Regions from separate parts of the Homo sapiens genome. Here region 1 is linked to region 2. Evidence: promoter capture Hi-C in human tissues and cell types (Jung and others, 2019). All regions are on one chromosome and are shown on one strand. Each heading gives the region's core, a stretch centred on a gene start or on the middle of the fragment in contact. The rest is flanking DNA. Distances are from core to core; before and after follow the strand shown.

Region 1 (3,546 bases), core at 129-2,628, 140 kb before region 2:
TCAATGTATGATTAATTTTGTTTCATCTCTCTCCCAGAATATTTTGAAGCGATATTTAACCTTAGCATTTCTTCTGTGTATACTTCAGTATGTATCTCTAAAAAATAAGGACTTACTTTTAAAAACATAATCATAATACCATTATCATACCTTAAAAATAATCATTTCTTCCCTGCTGACTCCTCCCCCAAGATTGTGTATCATTTTGTCTGTTAGCATGTAGTATTTTTCAGCTACTTTCTACTGTTATAAAATACTGTAGTAGTACTAAAAAAAAGTAATCATTTCTTAATATTACCAAATACAGTTTTAGTTTTCACATTCTCCTGATTGTAAAGTATTTTGAATAGCCTGAATCAAGATCCAAATAAAACCTGGATATTGTAATTAGTTGCCATTACTTTTCATTTCTAGGTTCCTTCCTCTTTATTGCTCTTTTTTTTTCCTTACAATTTATTTACTGAAGAAATTAGGTGATTTGTCTGTAGACTTTCCCATGGTTTGGATTTTGCTATTTGCTTCCATTTGGGGTTAACACATTTCTCTGTCTTGTGTATTTCATGTAAATTGGTAGTTGTATCTACAGGCTTGATTAGATCTGACTTTAGATTTGTTTTGAGATGGGGACATCTTTTTTTCATAAATGTTATTGTGAGCCTTCACTAGGAGGCATATAATATCTTATTGTCCGTCTGTCTATCTTTTTTGTGGTGTTAACACTATTGATGATCATTACCTAGGTCTGTTAGTTAGGGATTGCAGATTGGTGATATTCCATAATTCATTTATTAGTTGAAATGTATCTATAAGGACAAGTTTTTTATCATCAATTATTTGATTATCTTGAGGTACAATTTGATTAGGAAAACAAGATAAATACTTGCTTCTCTTTTTTAATTTACCAGTTTTCAAAACAATGAATTGGTTTCTTGCCATTCTCCAAAAGTGATCAATTAGATTTGTTTTTTAGTGTAATTAAGAATTCATGGATTTAATCAAATTTGATGTGTTTCGGTGAATGGTAGTTATCCTTATAAATGTTTAAATTGTCTTATTTGACTAAGGGGACACACTTCACATTGTCTTCTGAGTTCTTTTGACAGGATCCTAATCGTCTTTCAATGGCTTTCTTTTCCTAGACCTGGAATCTGCCATCTCTCTAATACTGCTTGTTTCTTAAAGGAACTATTTTTGTTTGGGATATATTTAAATATTTTTTTATTGCTACACAGTCCACCAAAGTTTTTTTCCATTAGTAGGTTTCACAAAGCTATTTTAATGGTTTCCTTAATCTATGAACAGATTGGAAAAAGAAGACCCTTTAGAAATAGAATTTTTATTTTTTATTTGTATGGTACAATGTGTTTTACTGATTAGGTAAGTCAGTAGGCTTTGAAAATTTACTTGACCAAATATAAGGAAACTATGTCATTATCATGGACTAGTGCAGGGAGATTCAGCAGTTGCTAATCTTTTATGTAAGTCAGACATGAGTGTTGCTTTGGTGAGAGGATTATAGTAAGCACTGTGTTAAGGCTGGTTTGTTCTCCAGTGGACATATCAAAAGGTGACAAGTGAAACTCTTGATTGGCATGGTTCCCTTGTCCTGGTAATTAGAACTAATATATCTGAGCAACTTATCTCCAAAATTTGGGAGGGCATAGTGGCATTTTTAGTTAAAAAAAAAATGACAAGCTCACTGTTATGGATGGTGTTTTAGTTATTTATTGTTATATAACAAACTACATCAAAATTTAGAGGCTTATTTTGCTTACAGTTTTGTGACGTAGGAATTTGGGAAGAGTTTGCCTGGGTGATTTGTCTCTTAACCATGTGGCACTAGGAAGATTGTTTTGGTTAGAGGATCCATTTATACATGGTTTCTTCACTCACTTGTCCGGTATCTTGAGGTCCTTAGCTCTTCACCCCCAACCCCCAACCCCCAACCTGGTGGCTCATTTTCTAGGGCATCTCCATGTGGCTGTGGCTTCTCAGGATGGTCCCATTTCTTTTTTTTTTTTTTTTTTTTTTGAGACGGAGTCTTGCTCTGTCGCCCAGGCTGGAGTGCAGAGGCGTGATCTCAGCTCACTGCAGCCTGCGCCTCCCGGGTTCAAGCGACTCTCCTGCCTCAGCCTCCCAAGTAGCTGGGATTACAGGCACGCGCCATCACACTGGCTAATTTTTGTATTTTTAGTAGAGACGGGGTTTTGCCATGTTGGCCAGTCTGGTCTGGAACTCCCGACCTCAGGTGATTCACCTGACTCGACCTCCCAAAGTGCTGGGATTACAGATGTGAGCCACTGTGCCTGGCCAGATGGTCCCATTTCTTACATGGTAGCTAGCTTTCAAGAGACAGGAAATGGAAGCTCCCAGGCTGGTTAAGGGCAATCCTCAGAGCTGGCACAGTGTCACTTTGCCCTATTCTGTTGATGAAAACAGTTAAGGGGAAAATGGACTCTACCTCTTGGTGGGGGAGTAGCAAGGTCACATTGTTTTCATCAGTGTGAAAGGTTTTCTTCACATTGAAGAAGAGCAGGAATGGATGATATTGTTGTGCCTATCGTTGGAAAATACAATCTTCCACAGACCTTACCTCTATTCTTCTTGTAATCTGTGTACCCCAATCATACTAAACTGCCTCTGTCTCTTTGCCTCATAAACCTTGATAATTTCTTAGGGCTTTGTCAGGCCAATTAAAAAATGCTGTATTAATGTTTAAATGGCATTATAGGAATAGAAATAGACTAAGAAGCAAGAACATTTACTTCAGCCTAGATGTTTTATTCTGTCATTTGGTAAGGTTTTTTGTGAGGTAAAACGTGAAGCTACCTCTACCAGTCCTTAGTTAGAAAGGAATCTGTTTGGTACTGTTTATGAGTTTTTAAACCTACACTAGGTTTTATTTAATGGACAAAATATAAAGAATCATAAGTATCAATTTTTTTTTTTTTTTGAGGCAGTCTCACACTGTTGCCCAGGCTGGAGTGCAATGGTGTGATCTTGGCTCACTGCAACCTCTGCCTCCCAGGTTCAAGCGATTCTCCTGTCTCAGCCTCCTGAGTAGCTGGGATTACAGGCACATGCCACCACGCCCGGCTAATTTTTATAATTTTAGTAGAGACGGGCTTTCACGATGTTGGTCAGGCTGCTCTCAAACTCCTGACTTCATGATCCGCCCGCCTCGGCCTCCCAAAGTGCTGGGATTACAGGTGTGAGCCACCGCGCCCGGCCACTTCTGGAACTTTAAAAAAATCTTGAACTCATCCTGTAGTTTCAAGTAGTATTCCTTTCCCATCACCAAATGAAAATAAAGCAGGATCGGCCGGGTGTGGTGGCTCACGCCTGGAATCCCAGCACTTTGGGAGGCAGAGGTGGGTGGATCACCTGTGATCAGGAGTTTGAGACCAGCCTGGCCAACATGGTGAGACCCCATCTCTACTAAAAATACAAAAATTAGCCAAGCGTGGTGGTGCACACCTGTAATCCCAGTTACTGGGGAGGCTGAGGCAGGAGAATTGCTTGAACCCAGGAGGCGGAGGTTGCAGT
Region 2 (3,870 bases), core at 492-2,991:
GATAGTGTTACTGTAAATGCAGTACCACATCTAGAAGTTCCCTAGAAAAAGCAGCCCAGGACTGAATAGAAGCTAGGTGTTAAGTGTCCCTGCAGTTAGGAGATGTTTTCCTGTAATAAAATTAAAATATTAAAAGCTCCTTTTTAGTCCATTATTCTGTCTGGCTGGAGGTACTTTTTCCTTCTCCATAGGAAATACCCCTTCTGCCACTAGAGAGATTCCTGCACCCCCACCCTCATCCTTCCGCCCGTAACCTTCCTTTGAACCAGAGCAACTCTCAGGAGGCATTCACAAGGGCACTGCCTCACCCCTCCTGGTTTGGTTTGACATGGAATGTTCGTGCCATCTGTTTTTCTCCGCTTGGATTCCCTTGCTTGATTTGTCACTGAGCAGCAACCTTCAAAATCCTCTCTCAGGTTTTTTTGTTTTGTTTTGTTTTTGAGATGGAGTCTCGCTCTGTCACCCAGGCTGGAGTGCAGTGGCGTGATCTTGGATCACTGCAACCTCCGCCTCCCAGGTTCAAGCGATTCTCCTGCCTCAGCCTCCCCAGTAGCTAGGACTACAGGCGCGTGCCACCACGCCCAGTTAATTTTTGTATTTTTATTAGAGACACGGTTTCACCATGTTGGCCAGGATGGTCTCCATCTCTCGACCTCGTGATCCGCCCACCTCTGCCTCCCACTGCATTCCAGCCCCGGGGGTGACAGAGCGAGACTCCATCTCAAAATAAAATTAAATAAAGGAGATTAAGAAATTACTCAGGCCGGGCGTGGTGGCCCACGCCTATAATCCCAGCACTTTGGATCTGCTGCCCTCTCCCGGCCAAAACATTAGCTGGGCTATAGCCCTAGGGAGGCTGAGTCGGGAGGATTGCTTGAGCCCAGGAGGCCAAGGCTGCAGTGAGCCGTGCTCACGCCACTGCACTCCAGCCTGGGCAACAGAGCAAGACCCTGTCTCAAAAAAAACAAAACAAAAACAAAAAACACCAAACCCAAAAATACAAACCTCAAGCTCCCAGAAGCTAATCATGATATGCTTACTGACATCTAAACTGCAAAGTAGTTGAAATATTAACCTCATGTAAACCCACTTAAGTAAATAAAGCTACATACAAGCAATTCTGTGTGCAGGGTGGCCCGAGGCACTTTAAGGGTTGTGGCTTGGGGATTATTAAGAACCTCCTAGAAATAATTCTTTCCTAAATGGTCAGTTGATGGTGAGCGCTGAAAAGCCGATGGGTACTGCTCGGCCAAGGGATTGAAAAATCGGCCTTTGAGAAGAACAAAGTCAAAATGAAAGATTAGATTATAATTTCTCTGGGGTGGTGCCAGTTGGATCTAGGAAACTTAAACTCGTGAAAGAATGTGCTTAGAGCAGAAGATAGAAGCTGGTGGCTGTCTCTGCTCCCCTCTACCTCTCTCCCGGGTCCTGGGTCTCCCTAGAGGGGCGTCCGACCCGCGGCAGCCCCACTCCCAGCTCGAATCCCTCCCTTCAGGTCGCTCCAGGGCGGGCAGCCAAGGTGGGCCTCCCCAGGCGCTGTGATCCACATTTCACCTCCTAACAACCGGCCTCTCGGCCGGGGTTGAGGACTCAGCGAGGCCTTGACTCCGTGGGTCTGGGCAACAGCCGGCTCCGCCCCGCCCCGCCAGCCGGGTCCCTCCCCATCCCGCGACCCAACGGTCGTTCCCCGCCGCCGGCCCCGCCCCTCCCTGGCCGCCCGCGGCGCGCCGGCGCCTGCGCAGTCGCCCCAGAGCGCCCCGACCGGGATGGCGGCCGTTTTGGAGTCGCTGCTGCGAGAAGAGGTGTCGGTCGCAGCCGTCGTGCGGTGGATCGCGCGCAGCACCCAGGGTTCGGAGGTAACAGCGGTGACACGCCCCCAGGTCTGACTCGAAGCCGGTTCCCGCAGTGGAGTCCAGCCCTCCAGTCCCCTTCCTCTAGGGCGCCTGGCTGCCAGCCGGGCCGAGTGCACTCCAACTGGGCGCCGCTGCCCGGGCCGCCCACCCGAGGCGCGCCCTACGGCCCCGGCTGCTCACGGCCCGCGGGCCGGCGGCTGACCCTCTCGCCCCTCCACCTGTGCTTCTGCCCTAGGATAACGCTGGGGAGGCGGCCGCGCTGAGCTCACTCCGGGCCCTGCGGAAAGAATTCGTACCGTTCCTGTTGAACTTCCTGAGGGAGCAGAGCAGCCGCGTCCTCCCGCAGGGGCCCCCGACCCCCGCCAAGACCCCGGGCGCCTCGGCAGCCTTGCCAGGGAGGCCGGGAGGCCCGCCGCGGGGTAGCCGCGGGGCGCGCAGCCAGCTTTTCCCTCCGACCGAGGCCCAGAGCACCGCTGCCGAGGCCCCTCTGGCCCGCCGCGGGGGCAGGAGGCGGGGCCCGGGGCCGGCCCGCGAGCGTGGAGGCCGCGGCCTGGAGGAGGGGGTCAGCGGGGAGAGCCTGCCCGGAGCCGGGGGCCGGAGGCTTAGGGGCTCTGGCAGCCCCAGCCGCCCCAGCCTCACGCTGTCTGATCCGCCAAACCTCAGCAACCTGGAGGAGTTCCCTCCCGTAGGCTCGGTTCCCCCCGGCCCTACAGGGTGAGACTCAGCTCTCATGCAGGAGATGGGTACCACGAAGGCTCTGGGGAGTCAGTCATTCGAGCTCGGCGCTCCGCAGTGGAGCGCCAGGATGGGTAGAAGGCTGGGGGTGATGGTGAGGGTTTTTGTGGGGTTTTTTGGCAAGAGGTCTAGCTGTTGCGGTGGTGGAGGGGAGATGTTTGAAGATAGGAATTTGAGAAAAACCTGTGGCTACTCTCAGCAGGACGAAGCCTTCTCGCAGGATCAACCCAACTCCGGTGAGCGAAGAGCGGTCACTCTCCAAGCCCAAGACCTGCTTCACCTCACCCCCAATCAGCTGTGTCCCCAGTTCCCAACCCTCAGCCCTGGACACTAGCCCTTGGGGCCTTGGCCTTCCCCCAGGGTGCAGAAGTCTGCAAGAGGAGCGAGAGATGCTCAGGAAGGAGCGGTATGGCCTGGCCGCTCCTGGGGATATCGGTTTCCTCGCTGTGGGGGATCTTCAGGGGTTTTCCCTGAAATTGATTTCCCTCTTGGGGACTCTGGGTTTGTCTCCTGGGCTGTTGGTATCTTCTCTGGAGTGACCTGAGTGTGGCCGTAGCAGGGAAGCCAAGCTGACTGCTCATGAAATTTCTTTATTCCATAGCTCTAAGCAGCTGCAGCAGTCACCTACCCCCACCTGTCCCACCCCAGAATTGGGGTCGCCCCTCCCCAGCCGGACAGGAAGCCTCACAGATGAACCTGCAGACCCTGCCAGAGTGTCTTCCCGCCAGCGCCTGGAGCTTGTAGCCCTTGTTTACTCCTCGTGCATTGCTGGTGAGTGAGAGCGGAGGGAGCGGGAGTGGAGACACTTGTAGAACTTATGGGTAAGAGAATTGGTAAGGCACTTGGAACTGAGCCTTGGCTCCAAATGGTGCCCATACCATGGGCTTTCTTTTTGTATCTATCTAGAGAACCTGGTACCAAACCTCTTCTTGGAGCTTTTCTTCGTCTTTCAGCTCCTCACTGCCCGGAGGATGGTGACTGCCAAGGACAGCGACCCTGAACTAAGTCCAGCTGTCCTAGGTCAGTGAGCAAGCCTCCTTTTGAGACATGGGGTCTAGAAACGGGACCGTTCTTAACTGACAGCTTGGTACTGTCCTTCTAGATTCCCTGGAAAGTCCACTGTTCCAAAGCATCCACGATTGTGTCTTCTTTGCAGTGCAGGTTTTGGAGTGTCACTTTCAGTGAGTTTCCCTGGCTGAGGCATTTGGGCCTCATTCTCATCATCTGCTTAGCTCTCTGGCTGCTTGGGATATATGCTGGTGCTTAACACAGGGGCAGTGGT

What was found. Contacts are between HindIII fragments. The study calls those that stand out against the background at their distance.
Region 1: a contact is called between a fragment that was not itself captured here and the fragment with the promoter of CDAN1 in region 2, in 1 of the 25 tissues and cell types used here (aorta).

The regions. Positions count from the first base shown.
Region 1 is chr15:42,874,391-42,877,936 of GRCh38, reverse strand. All of the region lies in intron 2 of TTBK2 (tau tubulin kinase 2), which reads left to right. Among named protein-coding and RNA genes, the nearest start is that of TTBK2, 45 kb to the left of the region's middle. The HindIII fragment of the contact is 8,377 bases long and covers 1-3,546 here.
Region 2 is chr15:42,734,999-42,738,868 of GRCh38, reverse strand. It overlaps CDAN1 (codanin 1), which reads left to right and starts at 1,741. Exons shown (of 28, transcript NM_138477.4): 1 at 1,741-1,856; 2 at 2,089-2,567; 3 at 2,791-2,994; 4 at 3,190-3,359; 5 at 3,495-3,608; 6 at 3,691-3,769. The coding sequence starts at 1,767. TTBK2 (tau tubulin kinase 2) reads left to right here. Exons shown (of 15, transcript NM_173500.4): 15 at 1-139. RefSeq lists silencers at 1,555-1,804, 1,995-2,134, 2,225-2,514. The HindIII fragment of the contact is 10,495 bases long and covers 1-3,870 here.